4 separate regions of the Homo sapiens genome follow, and all the other regions are linked to region 1. Evidence: promoter capture Hi-C in human tissues and cell types (Jung and others, 2019). All regions are on one chromosome and are shown on one strand. Each heading gives the region's core, a stretch centred on a gene start or on the middle of the fragment in contact. The rest is flanking DNA. Distances are from core to core; before and after follow the strand shown.

Region 1 (3,696 bases), core at 786-3,285:
AATGACAGAGAACTTGAAAATAACAAAGAACGTGAAAGTGACATTTCAGTCATCCTTAAATATATGTAGTGCTCATCTTAATTCTAAGCTTTCTTCATTGCCATAAGCATTTCATGCAGGGATTAGTCCTTGAGCTTGAGTTGCCTAATTGATTCAATCATCCTCACTCAACACTAAATGCACGGCACCTTTCAGTGGCTGATGTGGGCTCACTGAGTTGGGTGCATATTTTGTGAGCATTAATTAACACCTGCATCTTGAAATGCAGAGGATAAAGAATGTTGACAAAATAAACAAGCAAGAAGGGATTCCCATTTTCTCAGCTACCCTGTGGTTTGCCTGAGCTCATCCTAAGGTTTCATAACAGAACAGGACACAGAACAGGAAAATTGAGACTCTCTTACAAATTTCACCGATAAGCCATTTGAGAATTCTAATAAAAAAGTGGAAAATCCAGCCAGACTCCCAGATACATGATTCCAGGTGATATCAGACATTCTTGCAGATAAACATCCCATTGACTGAATTTTCTCCCTCTAAACTTTCAAAAATTAATTTAAAGAAGCTTCTTTTCTGTGGCTTGTCTAACCCCAACAAGCACCAATTTGCATTTTGTTTCAAGAAAGCATTTTACTTTAACCCAAAAACAAAGTCTGTTTCTCTGCAAATTGTCAAGCCCCAGATTTTCTCCCAACCACATCCCCATGCCATTCTTGCCTTCACCCTGAGGATCATGGTCAGAGGGGTGATGATCTCCCCCAAATGATTCCACAGCTGATTTTTTTTTTATTTGGTAGGGCTTTCTGGGTTAGGATAACGCTGGATAATCCTAATTACAGCCCTATCCAAGCTTAAACTCCATAACCAAGCAAAAATTTTACAACTCAAAGAAATTTAATTTGGCCTCACACTTGCAATGGGGAAACACACACACACACACACACACACACACACACACACACACACAAACAAGGGAAAAACTGGCAGCTCAGCTAACAGGCAACTGAATGTTGGACACGATGCCAAGTTGGTCCAATTAAGAAACATTAGAGGTCTAATGAGGAACAGTTCAGACAGGACACAAGGTTCTTGACAGCAGCCAAGCAAACTGCAAAGTCTCCAGCCCAGGTAAGTGAATCCCTTCAATATTTCAAAACAGCAAGGGACAAGTAGAACTTGGCTTGTAAGCGTTCTTGCATACCTAGGGAAGAAGAGTCCAGGTGGAGAACCTGGCCAAACAATGATGTCAGAACAAAAGTCCATTTAAGCCTAAAAAACAATCTATGGGACATTCCTGGGTACAATAGAACACATGAAATATTGCCATTTTGCCTATTAATATTTATTCCTGGGAAATTTTAACAAAATCATTGTCTGGGTGCACTTCATCCTCTCCTTCCCTCCCACTACCAGCCCCTTCAAATGCACCTCCTGGAAAAAACGGAACGAAAACAGTGTCATGAAAAATACTTGGGTGAGGGCTTTCATTTACTCCATGCCAAGTATTTTATTTTTAAGCCAGATTTGACAAAGTCCTGCTAAGGCAAAGCAAGTTTCAGATCATACCCTCAGTGAAAATTGTAGCACCGTCTGCTTACCTGTCACCAGGACTGCCTTCTGATCCACAGGTAACAATTCTTGGCCAGATAAGTAAGTATACATGAGGAAGCATGACACCGAGAAGAGGATCAAGCCCCAAAAAGGGGACAGGATGAGCAGGCAGACTGCACAGAGGCCTGCCAGGCAGACCATCCAGCTCCACAGCTGCCCTGAGCTCTTCTTGTATTTGCAAAATACTGTCCCACATAGTACTGTGGGGACAGCCAGGCAGATCCATGCTGTGTCCGAGAAGAAAGTGCTCATTCTCAGTGACTTGCTGCACCTTCAAGTGCTCAGGGCCAGTGAGTCTAGCGGGCAAAGGCTGGCTGGAGGCAGCCTGAGTTCTGTGAACAGAGAGTCAAGAAGGGAGGGGAGAAAGCAGCCCCAGCCCCTTTCAACTGAGCATAGATTAAGCATAATCATATTCCCAGTGGGTAATTTAAACCAGTGTGCACTTCAACATAAATACCAAGGCACTTCCTATTTGACCGCTCTCGCCCCTCCCCACCCCCTGCATACACAACACATGCACATACTCACCCACAAACACACACCTTCTATTTTTTTTTAATGACAGTCCACCTCTGGAGCGATGACTAACTGGATAATAATTGACAGAATTTGAACTGCATGGAGAATAACAGGAAGATCCTCTAGCTCACAGGAAAATACTGTCTTCTTCAAGAGCCTGCAGTATGTCTGGGTGCTGAGTCCTTTTTCTGACTCGGGAGTGAGTGAGAGTGTGTGTGTGTGTGTGCGTGTGTGTGCATGCATGCATATAAATATAGGCAATCGATGAAGTTTGGAAAATAGATTCTGGAAGGGAAGGCACCTCTGATCTGGTCCATAGCTTCAGGACTCCTACAAATCCCAACTGAGGCAGGCTGAAGGGTTGGATGGAGAGGGATATGAAAGTAGAGGAAGATATTCCTTGGTAGAGGAAAGTGCTTTGGTCTTGCCTGAGTGGAAACATGCCAGGGAGAGATAATAATGACAATTAACTAATAGCGGCTAATATCTATTGGTAGTTTTTTGTGGCAGAGGCTGTGTATAGCTGCTTATTTGTTCTTTCTCTTTATTGTAAGCCTATTCTATGCCAGCCTCCATTCACTGGGACTCCTCTCATCCTCCTTGAATACAATATCCTTATGAAGTTGATTCTAGTATTATAGTAATTTTACAGGTGAGGAAACCAGGACACAGAGAGGGTAAGAGACTTAGTCAAGATCACACAGCAGTGGAGTCTTGCAGCCTGATCTCAGAGCTGTATGCCCCTAAGCATTCTATTCCACTGCCTGCTTTAGGCAAAAAAAAAAAAAAAAATTAGTGCATTATGTGCTAGATCTTTCCTACTTTCACCCCATTTCAACCTTATAAAACTGTTTGAGGTGGGTGTTATTATTATGGTCAGTTTACAGAGAGAAAAACTGAGGCTGGGAAAAAATAAATCCCTTACTCACAAGCGGCTTAAAAGCCAGCACTCTGCAACTACAGCACCACCTAACCGTGCTAAGCCAGAGAGGGGTCACCGCACCTGGGCTCAGGGCGTGCCCCATGTGGGCCACATGCCTGGCTGGAGGGAGGCAAGGTTGTGATAAAGGCTGGACTTTGGCATAGCTAGAGAGAAACATTCTCTATTTGAGGTCAGTTTCCCTCTATTCAAATCTAATCTTAACTCCACTACTTATTAATTACATAGTCTTGGGAGGGTCACTTCACCTCCCTAGATCTTCATCCCTTTGGCTATAAAATAATATCATATCCTGCCTGGAACAGTAGAAGGAACCTCATAAATGCTAGTGATTCATGTTTTTTAAACAGGAGGAGAATGAAGAATAAGAGGAAGTCGTGTAAAACAAAGTGTCCAGTGGAGTATAGACTTGTCTCAAAACACGTGCTGGAGTTAAATGAGGGGCAGGAGGAGGAAGGGAGAGGATGCCTTTTGTGGATGATGTTGGGGAGGCAGGACTCGGGAAGGAAGGGACCCAGCAGCGTATCCCCTGTAAAGGGAGGTGAGGCAGAGCCCACCTGGGCTCAAAGCCAACTCAAGACCCAAGGGAGAAGGGGTGGGAAGCAGTGTCTTGTGAACCATTACTG
Region 2 (3,696 bases), core at 645-3,144, 1.4 Mb before region 1:
ATGAGCCAGATTTTAATAAATTATTGATAAAAATGTTGAATGAGATAAGATTCATGCCTGATAAATGTTACATAGCTGATACTTCCTCTTTTCCATTAAAAGCTATATATTTTATATATAAATAGGAATATGTACATATACATGTATGTGTATATGTACCTATATACACACATGCATATACAACATATAGCAAGGTATAATAAATAGTACAGTCAACACTTGTATCCACCACCCAGCTTAAGAAATATCACATTACGATACCACTGCAGCTCCTGTGTGTTCCTCCATGATCTTAGCCTGCTACCTTTCCTCTTAGGAAAATGGCTATCTGCAGTGTTTGTTCTGTGTGTGTGTGTGTGTGTGTGTGTGCGTGTGTGTGTGTTTTGAGACAAGGTCTAATTCTGTCACCCAGGCTGGAGTGCAGTGGAGTGATCACAGCAACCTCGACTGCCCAGGCTTAAGCATCCCAAGCAGCTAGGACCATAGGCATGGGCCGCCATGCCCAACTTTTTTTTTTTTTTTAATTATTTGTAGAGACAACATCTCGCTATGTTGCCCAGGCTGATCTTGGACAAAATCCTAGGCTAAAGCAATCCTCCCGCCTCGGCCTCCCAAAATGCTGGGTTTACAGGTGCAAGCCACTGCACTCAGGCTATCTGCAATTTTAAATCTATTATTCATTGTTTTGCTTCATAGTTTTACTTCTTATCTGTTTCTAAACCTAATAGTTTTTCCTGTTTTTTTGAACTCTATATAAATGAAATCATCTGTTTGTATTTTTCTGCAGACTGTGTTTTCCACATATGCATGTCCTGGAGATCCACCATCCTTGCTGCAGTTCATCAGACGTACACACTGCCGGGTACGGAGCTATGCTTCCATCAATGAGCATGTAGGCCATTTCCTATTTTGCTATTGCTAGAAATGCTTCTAGGAGTGTTCTTGTCTCTGTGCCCAGGGGCATAAATGAGAATTCCTTGCAGAGATTATCTTAGGGATAGGTTACACATCTTCCACTTTGGTAGATAATGACAAACTGTTCTTCAAAGTTGTTGTACAAATTTACTCTCTGAACAGCAGTCAGCGAGGGTCTCTGTTTTCCTGTTATTGCCAAAGCTTGGCATTTCTAGGCTTAATATTTACCAATCAGGAAGACATAAAATTATATAAATACATCTAATTGTTACTGGAATTTTAGCAATGGCCAATGAGTGTGAACAGTTTTTTATACATTAGTCATTTTTCTTATTCTGTGAAATGACTGTTTTTATCTCTTAGTTATTTTTTACTTTTTTTTGCTATCTTATTGAGTTTAGAAGTTCTTTATATAATCTTGTTACTGATCCCCTATCAATTAAATGTGCTGTGAGTATCTTTTAAAAGATAACGTCTTCAATCTCTACCTTTTCTTTTAAGCCCTCACATCTCATGGAAGAACCTGTTGCATATCAGACTGAAATCTATGTGAATTATGCCTTGGGCATTCCTCTTTTCTACCAGTTGAGTAACACTATTGAAAACTACAATGCTCATACTCCATTCTACACTTTTTGTGGTACTCAGGGGACGTTTACTGGTATGTAGTTTCTAGATCCTTCCTTTCACCTCCTTATGCAGTTGAGTCATTTGGTTATTTTTCTTCCTGTGATCAAGTGACTCTTAATACAGGTTTTACCTTTAGCATTTACATGAAACCATCAAAATTTCCAAAATCTCCTTCATTAGAAAAACGGTCACAAATCTGCGAATCTGTCAGCCATTTTCCTATGGCTCTGGTACAGCACAGTGAAACCAAATTGCAAAGTTTAATTAGTTAGCTTGCTTCAAGATAAAAATGCAAATAAAAAAGTTTTTAGTTTCACCCGTTTATAAGCCAAAGGCAAAATTAATTAAAGTCCATGGAGAAAAGTAAACAAACATTTTGAAATAAAGGAAATAAACATTCTGAAGTGTGAGGTTAAGGCTCATGAAACATGGGAGAGTCAATTATTTATAGTCATGTGTTTCTGTCCGATAATTTAATCACGTTTATTCTGTCCTCTCTCCCACTGGAATGCATGCTAGGAAGAAAGGCTCATTAAGCATTAAAAGGTGGTCCACATGGGTTTCTTGTCAATGGCATTGCTGCATCCCAATGCTAACAAAATATTTCTGGACAAAATGACAGTGGATTTTCTGAGTTCTGTTATTTTCATTAAGATGTTCTTAGAAACCTGTAAAATGGGAAGCTCATATATAATTTTGCCATATTTAAAAACCAAACAAACAAAAAGTTGGTATTGTGCTGTTGGCCATCTTGGTTCTTAGATTAGTCATAGAGGAAAACAAGTGTGTTTGTTGGAATTGACAGTTAAGATGTTAAATAAAAAGAAAAACCCCATGAAAAATTGTCGTTTCATCATCTGTAAATAGACACTGCTTTTGCATAATAATATACCCTTCTCTTGACAATATCTAGAAGCAGTGCATGATGGGATGTTTTCTCATTGCTGCAATGCTGCAGTGAAACTGAAATCTCATCAGACTTGGGTTGAGTCAGAGAAAGAGACAACCGGTGCTGTGGCCCACGATCAGCAGACAGAATGTCAGAAATGAGCAATCGCACCATTGGGAATTCATCCAACAGGACTGAGAAGTGTCAGTATGAAAAGACAGTATATAAAGAAGATTGTTGCTGGGTGGCCTGGGTTTGCAAAACAACAGGAAGATGGCTGAAAAAGGGAAATCAGTAAATAAGTTACAAGGCTACCATAGCTATGAAAAAATAGTAAGAATTTGTATTGTCATGGAAAGATGACCACAAGATTTTTTGTAGTGGGGGGAGATGAGTTATAAGATGAACTCCATTCTATAACTCCATAGGTTTGTAAAATCATATCAAAACAAAGACCTGTCTGTAGATATGTAGTTATATTTAAGGAAAGGAAAATATAAGAGGACTACACACAGTTGTTAATGGCGATGATGTTGGGAAGTGTTGGGGAGGAATTAGGAGAGGTGGAAGGCTCATTTTAATGTAGTCATTTCTGTGCTTGAGATTTTGCTACAAGAATGACTTAGTTTGGTAATTCAAAGGCGACTAAAAAGTAAACAATAACAGATCAACAAAGGAACAGCCCAAAGAACCAGGTGTCAAGTACAGGAGAAACAGCAGATCTTGAGTTGGAGCCAGCCTGGGATCCTGGATCCAGCAGGAGCAGGCACAGGAAGACAGAGACGTCCCAGCAGACGAGGAAAGCCCTGGGGTTTCTTGGAAGCTCTCTGTTAGGAGCGTTCTGTCTGTAATGGCGACAGTGGGTGAGTTCCTACCTCTGGTGCACTTAGCACACCAGGGCCATCTTAAGAGACCCAGAGCTGCCTCCCATTCTGCCCCCGGGACCCTCTTTTGTTTCTGCTCAGGCTTTACCAGCATCACTGCGTATGTCCGATGAGGGTTCTCAGACGCCTGCTGGAAAAGCAAAATTCCCTGGGGAGCTTTTGAAAATGCAAATTTAGGGTGCCATGACCTGTCAAATCAGAAATCTGGGAGAGAGACAAATGTCTTTCCTAACATGTGTGTTTTCAGATTTTGCCTCAGGGATCTTGGATGCGGAGTGGGTCAGTGACTATTGGCTTGGCTCGGCCTGGCCTGCTGGTTCCCTGTCTTTTAGCTGCAAGGCTTGCATGGCCTGGCCTGCTGGTTCCCTGTCTTTCAGC
Region 3 (3,696 bases), core at 326-2,825, 1.4 Mb before region 1:
GTCTTCCGTGAACTCCCCCTTCATCAGAGGAAAGCGCTGATTTGCTGATTTGCTGATTTGGGGAATTTTATACCTTCAGGCAAAACCAACCATGAGAATATTTTCATTTCGAACAGAATATTATGAATGAAATAAATTAACTCGGCAGTCAGAGATTTAAGCTGGTTTCAGCACACTGCCCCACAAAGATCTGCCATGCTACCCAAAACATTATACTCCAGCTCGCCAGTTACTATTATTAAAAACAGCATCACCGGAGGGACATGAGCAATGATGGCCCTGAAAATTCCTTGGGCACTATGACTGGCTCTTCACAAGAGAGGACATGGTTCTGGTGCTCAGTGACTGGGTTGTAAAGCCTGGTTCTGCCACTCATCAGGTGGGTGCCCTTGAGCACATTACTCAACCTCTGGGTCAAGATTTTAAAAAATCTTTCCAGGTGATTCTAATGTATAGCAAAATTTAAGAAGTATTGTCCTTGAGCAAGTTCCTTACCGAGTTTAAACTTCAGTTTCAATATCTTTAAAATGGGAAAATCACAGCATGTACTTCATGTGATGGTGCTGAAGATTAAATAAGATAATGAACACTCAGGGCTTAAGTGCTTAACATATCTGTTACCTAGCAAGGGTTCAATCAATGTAAGCCTCTACCATCATCGTCATCATCATCATCATTACTATGGTCATCATTATCATCATCATCATTGTCATCACTGTTGCCATCATCACCATCACCATCATCATCTTTGTCACATCAGCAGCCACATCTTCATTGTTGCTATTGGTATCTTCACCATCATCAACCTCACTATTGTCATCTTTGCCATGATGATCATCACAGTCATCATCAGCCCATCATCATCACCATGATCATCGCCATCACCTTCACCACCGTCTTTGCCATCATCATCATAATCAACACCATCACCTGACTCTATAGGAGGTACCATTGATTTTTTTTTTTTTTTAGAAACGGTTTCCTCTGTTGCCCAGGCTGGAGTGCAGTGGTGCAGTCTTGGCTCACTGCAGTCTCAACCTCCTGGGCTCAAATGATCCTCCCACCTCAGCCTCCTGAGTAGCTGGGACTACAGGCACATGCCACCAAGCCTGGCTTGCTCTCGCTCTCTCTTTCTCTCCATATATATATATATATATATATATATATTTTTTTTTTTTTTTTTTTTTTTTTTTTTTTCGTAGGGACTTCGCACTCTGTTGCCCAGGCTGGCCTCAAATTCCCAGGCTCAAGTGGTCCTCCTGCCTCAGCCTGCCTAAGTGCTGGGATTACAGGTGTGAACCACCAGCCCAGTCTGACACTGATTCCTTTAGGAAGACTAGAGTGCTTTATACTCAACATGATAATCTTGAATTCCTGATTCTGCTTTTAGTACTTCAGAAAAAGTGAGGGGCTAGTAACCCGTAAAAATTCTCTAGACATTTTGATTAAATTCTATTTAGGTCAAAAATGTATAAATCAAACCTTTTCGTAACATTCAACACGCACTGAGAATGTGCTCCTAATGATGGTCCTGTCTGTGGGTGCAGTGCTCCAAGCTCACTCCTTAGATTCTTTCACTCATACCTGAACACCTGTTGCGGAAGGGCCTCCCAGCCTCTTTCTCAGAGGCGTGGCCTCCCCAGGGGTGAAGCAGCAAAAACGCAGCTAGAACTCCATCCACCATTCTAAGCATCACTGTGGGAGTAAGTCACCCACCCTATCACATTCTCAGCTTCAAATAAATTCCTTTCTGCGTTTGGCATGGAAGGTGATAAGTATTTTCTGAGCGATTTTTCAGTTGCAAACTTCAGTCTGCTGAGATGAAATATGCAGATTGAGGTCTGAACAGCTGTAGCACTGCAGAGTGGCTGGTATTTTGGTGGGCTTTATTTTAAAGTCTTTGAGAGTTCAATCTCACTAAATAATTCAGCTGTTTAGGAAAAGCCATATGATCTTAAAATAAGTCCCTGAAGGTCAAGCATATAGGGTGAAATTTTATTTTTCAGTAAATAATAGCATTTGACAAAATAACAGAAATGTCCCTTATAGTATCTCTTCCTTTACATCTTTGAATGAAATTACCAAGTGCACATCACTGGATGTTCATTTATAAACATTTTACATCTTCTCCATGCCTTTCTGGCAGAGTATTAAGGTAACATTCTGATATCACTGTTCCCAATGAAGTTAGAGATTCTAAAGAACAATTTCAAAATGCAGCCCTAACTTGGGATGTCACTGATCACTTGGAAAGTCGTTTGTTACATCTAGTCCAGAAAAATATAAGCTTCTTGTCATAGAAAGGCTGAAGTATTGACTATAAATCTATAAAGAAAAAGAAAAAAAAAACTTGCAATGTGAAAGTTTTCCAGGTCAAAGCTGGATCTCTCTCATCCATCACTGAGTTCTCCAAGGTGACATGCAATTCAGGAGAAAAGCATCAGCATCCAGAAAGATACTGGCCAAGGATGTCTTTGTGCTCTTTAATGATGGGTCTTTGGCTGAATCACCAGACTGGTAGCTTTGGAATAGCTGCTCATGGAGGTGGGAGGCAGGATGTGGAGGTCCTTGGATAAATCTCATCTAGATTCACATAGAATCCTGCACTCGTCAAGGCTGATGGGATCCTGAAGTTCATCTACCTCAAATACCTTCTTGTCTCATTTTACGGATGAGGTAACTGAGGCCCAGGGAAAATAAACGATAGGTGCCCATTAAGGCACTCAGTGAATAATAAACCCAGAGCTAAGACGCAGGTGGCATTGGAGGAGCATGGTGATAACCATGCTTTGCGTCAGAGTTGGCCTGTGTGTTCCTCCGGTCCGACTGCAAGTACAGGCATGGCTATTTTGCTTGTGGACAAAAAAGACTCTGTCATCTCGCTCCCAGCTCTTATGGTGTGACCTGGGCCAAATCATTCAAACCCTCTCAATCCCAGCCTCCTTATAGATAAAGCCCTCTTAATAATCCCTACCTCATAGGGATGTTGTATCAATGAACTTCTATATTTAAAAATATCCTGAACAAAGCCTCGTATACACATTCATGAATTCATGCCCTCTGATGCCCTGAAACATTTCCTTTTGGAGTAGAGTATAGGGTCCAGAGCTGAATCATCATCACATTTACTCATAGGGCTCCACCAGGTACTCTCTCTCTTCCCAGACACCGTTTCTATCCGGGTTCAGGGAAATGAAGTCATTTCACTGTCACAGAGCTAACTGACATCTTGGTGGCAGCTGTGAGTCATAAACCGTATCAGGAAAAGCAGGAGCTGGGCTTCTCACAGCTTGCAAAAGCTGCCCAACTCTAAGGAATGGCATGCAAAAAAATGTTGTAAAGAAACTTTCCTCATTTATCATAAAAACTGTTAATGTTCCTTTTTAAACATTAAGAAAATATCACTGACCAAAAATTGGGAAAATTAAAACCATCCCTAATTCTACCAATCGGGGAAAGTCACTGTTAATATTTGGTAGGAACATAAGTTTTACATACATTTAACATAGATATAGATTAAGCTGATGTTCTAGAGCTTGTATTTTGCCAATTGTAAATGTATTGTGTTTTTCCCAAGTAATTGAATTGTCATCTTTCAAATGGATATACAGTATTCCATCACTCTTATTATTTCATTACCAGAGTGGTACTCAAAGTATTGAACAACAGGTAGAGATTGAGTGCCAACAAATGACA
Region 4 (3,696 bases), core at 809-3,308, 1.1 Mb before region 1:
TGACATAATAGTTGACTGCCAAGCAATTTATCTGGTGGCCTCATTACCAATTTAGAAAATTAAAATTTGCTGGAAATATCCAGACTGATCATATAATGGTCTATTAATTCCATTCTAACAACAAAGCAGGCTATGATCACTTTAATTAATCAGTAAGCAGTGAATGTCTATGTTAATCAGCCATACATATGGCTAGAATTCAATTCAGAGAATATTTGAGTCGCTACTCTGTGTTAGGCCCTGTCCTGGGCCACCGCATCTGATGAATTACAGTTAGTGGGAAGGCAGGGAAGGACATTGTCTCTCAAAATGTGTTAAGTGCCATCAAAGATGTATAAACAATGTATAAAAGAGATCAAGTAAAATTCCATGGGCCGGGCTCAGTGGGTCACACCTGTAATCCCAGCACTTTGGGCAGCCGAGGCAGGTGGATCACTTGAGGCCAGGAGTTTGAGACCAGCCTGACCAATATGGTGAACCCCCATCTCTACCAAAAATACAAAAGTTGGCCAGGCATGGTGGTGCATACCTGTAATCTCAGCTATTAGGGAGGCTGAGGCATGAGAATCTCTTGAACCCCGGAGGCAGAGGTTGCAGTGAGCACAGATCACGCCACTGCATTCCAGTGTGGGTGACAGAGCAAGACTCTGTCTCAAAAACATAATTCCACTGAGGAGAGACTGTATCAAAAATAGGCCTTATTTACATTAGCACCATCTGATAAAAATACGTGAGCCATATTAATAATTTAATACTTTTCTGGCAGCCACGTTAAAAAAAAAGTGAAAAGAAATACAAGGGATTTGTTTCCAAATGAAATCAATACAAAGATTATTAAGGAGACATTTTCCATTCTTTTTGTGTTCGTGTGATAAGCTTTTGAAATCCAATGTGTATTTTACGCTTACAAAACATCTCAGTGTGGACATTGCGTTTTCAGTAAAAAATATTTTATCTGTAAATAGATTAAAATGTATCAGGAAAAAGGTACATTCAACTGCCAAGTTGTCCCAATAATGGAATGAAGTGTTACTTTTTGAGCCCCAATTAAAATTAGTAAAGACTTTATAACTGCATTGACCACATGTGGTTAGTGGGTACCATATTGGGCTGTGTAGAGGCAGAACTTCCTGCAATAATGTCAATGTTCCATGGGACAGTGCAGCCTTAGAGTGTGAATGTGGGCTGCTCCTAAGGAATAAGGATACAGAGGGTGTATCCCAGGAAGAACTGACAGTTCAAAGACTTGGAAATAGGAAAGGCTTATGTGTAGCTATGGCTGCTGAATGTAGAAATAAACTGTGATGTTCATCTCAAGAAGAATTTTTGAGCACTGAGCCTTTAGGCATCTTAGATACTCTGTATTCCAATTTTTCTCCTATACTCTAGCCTATGGTAAGTTTCAGTTATTGAATAAAACTGCTAGTTGCCTTAAAAGGGGGAAATTAAGGCCAGGTGCTCATGCTTGTAATCCCCACCCTTTGGGAGGCCGAGGCAGATGGATCCAGATGAGTCTGGCCAACATGGTGAAACCCTGTCTCTACTAAAAAAATACAAAAATTAGCTGGGCGTGGTGGCATCCACCTGTAGTCCCAGTTAGGGAGGCTGAGCAGGAGAATTGCTTGAAGCTGGGAGGCGGACGTTGCAGTGAGCAGAGATTGCACCAATGCACTCCAGCCTGGTGACAGAGAAAGACTCTGTCTCAAAAAAAAAAAAAGGGGGGGGTGTTGGGGGGTGGGTGGGGGGTAGAAATTAAGCAGATGTAAATTTCTGAGAAAAGTGTATATAGTTAGACATAGATAAAGGGCACAAAACAATAGATTTTAAAAGAGGTAGAGGGATGACAGCAATTACTGGGTTACCCTAGACAACCCAGTAAGTGCCTGATCATAAAATCAATCAGGCAACAGCAAGTAACCCTGAGTCTGCATTTCAGGAGAGGGGTGATGGAGAGGTGCTGGGGCTTCAGTACCAGCTTTCTGGTTCAGCCTCTAAGGATATAGCTTGGTCTTCGTGGGTCTTCAAAGTGAGGCAAATGGCTATTAAATAGAATAAAACAAATTAAATTCCAAGACTATCAGACTCCTTGGCACCTATTCGCATAGGTGGGCATAAATCTCAGGTACAGAGTATCTGGATGCAGTGAGACCTCTAAGAATCAGATGCACAGAACACTGAGGAACATGGCAAAGCTGATGTAAATTACCGTCATGTCTGACTTACGTTCATGACACAATCAAAGCGGAGTCCTGGTTGAGTGGTTTTCATGATTTAGTCTAATGATCAATGTTGATTCCCTTTACAAACAGCACTTGGCCCAGTTACATATTTCTTCTATCCTGGGTTAAAGATGGCCTTCTAAATGCCCATTCTACCAATTTATAGGGTCTTTAAAACAGGATTTTCTGTAAAAAAGTACTTTCATTGGTTTTGATGAAAAGGGTTTGTGATGAAAGCAGAATCTCTAATAAGCATTTCATAAATGACTTGTCTTTCAAACTTAATATAAAACAGAATAAAATACATCTCCCAAAGACCTCCCTGCTGGCTTACAGATTTAAAGTCCCCTGCTCTCAATCAATCGGGCCCAAGAACTCAAAAATCTTTAAAGATGCAATCAATTAGTTATCAGTGAAAGTTGGTAAAACTGAGAAATTATTTATGGCCCAAATTTTGAAATAGTCATACTTTGAAGGGGGAGGGGAAAAAGCCACTTTGGGATCTGCATGTTCCTCTCCAGAGCACTCACTGTCAGCTCCTCCCTGCTGTCTAGAGTTCAAAAATGGAAAGAAAATCACAGGTATGAGCAAGTATGTTCACGACTGGGTGTTTTACCTTGTCTTCCAAAACTATGACAGATAGTCTAGGGCAGAATGCACCATGGAAAAGAGCCAGAAATTAGGAGGCAAACTCATTTTCCCAGGGCTGGCAGTGATCTCTCGGGTTGTCTCCTGTGTGTGTCTGTGGGCGGGGGGGGGGGGGGGGGGGTCATACACCCCCTTATACTCCCCACCTGCTATCTAAGTGAGTAGCAGTGATTTGGAATCTCAGGGTTGTAATATGATTCCCTCGTATTACGGAAAAGCAGATCCCAAATTCTAGTAGTTTAGCTACTTACCAACCAACTAATTACTTGGCAGACAGATAAATTATGTATCAGTCAAGACACTTTCTCTCATCCCTGGAGCTGCCTGAATAACCCTGCTGTGGGTATTCAGTTCTACACAGCAGGATATCCAGTTGTGAAAAACCCTCCACCAAGGGCTAACTTGCCACAGCACCTTGCTTTTGATGTCTTCATTCTTCAGGATATGAGTCTCCTTTCTTTACAGGAATTCAGGTTGTAATAAAATATGACCAAAAAAATCAAGAACCAGTTACGTACTTTGTCTCCATTCACCCTCTTGAAATGCAAGACAAATGATTTAAAAGGCGTTTTTGTGCCAGCATGCTAACTCCTGTGTCTTTTATGATAATTTTATATTTAGTTAAACTTAATTTTTCCCAACATTTTATTACAAAACTTCCAAATGCAGAGAAAACTCGAAAGAATTGTACAGCAAGTACCCATATGTTCACCAACTTATATTCTACCACTAACATTTTAATATACTTCCTTTATCACATATCAGATATCGATCTATTGATCCAACCCTCTGTCCACCTTATTTTTGAGTGCATTGCCAAGAATTGCAC

The links. Contacts are between HindIII fragments. The study calls those that stand out against the background at their distance.
Region 2: a contact is called between a fragment that was not itself captured here and the fragment with the promoter of HSD17B2 in region 1, in 1 of the 25 tissues and cell types used here (dorsolateral prefrontal cortex).
Region 3: a fragment that was not itself captured here is called in contact with the fragment with the promoter of HSD17B2 in region 1 in 1 of the 25 tissues and cell types used here (mesenchymal stem cells).
Region 4: a fragment that was not itself captured here is called in contact with the fragment with the promoter of HSD17B2 in region 1 in 1 of the 25 tissues and cell types used here (dorsolateral prefrontal cortex).

What each region holds. Positions count from the first base shown.
Region 1 is chr16:82,033,592-82,037,287 of GRCh38, reverse strand. HSD17B2 (hydroxysteroid 17-beta dehydrogenase 2) reads right to left here and starts at 2,035. Exons shown (of 5, transcript NM_002153.3): 1 at 1,599-2,035. The coding sequence starts at 1,863. The HindIII fragment of the contact is 4,836 bases long and covers 328-3,696 here.
Region 2 is chr16:83,457,669-83,461,364 of GRCh38, reverse strand. All of the region lies in intron 6 of CDH13 (cadherin 13), which reads right to left. Among named protein-coding and RNA genes, the nearest start is that of MIR3182, 49 kb to the left of the region's middle. RefSeq lists an enhancer at 2,521-2,690. The HindIII fragment of the contact is 4,801 bases long and covers 1-3,696 here.
Region 3 is chr16:83,441,207-83,444,902 of GRCh38, reverse strand. The region is part of intron 6 of CDH13 (cadherin 13); the gene reads right to left. Among named protein-coding and RNA genes, the nearest start is that of CDH13-AS1, 44 kb to the right of the region's middle. The HindIII fragment of the contact is 3,864 bases long and covers 1-3,507 here.
Region 4 is chr16:83,130,475-83,134,170 of GRCh38, reverse strand. The region is part of intron 4 of CDH13 (cadherin 13); the gene reads right to left. Among named protein-coding and RNA genes, the nearest start is that of CDH13-AS1, 270 kb to the left of the region's middle. The HindIII fragment of the contact is 4,415 bases long and covers 1-3,696 here.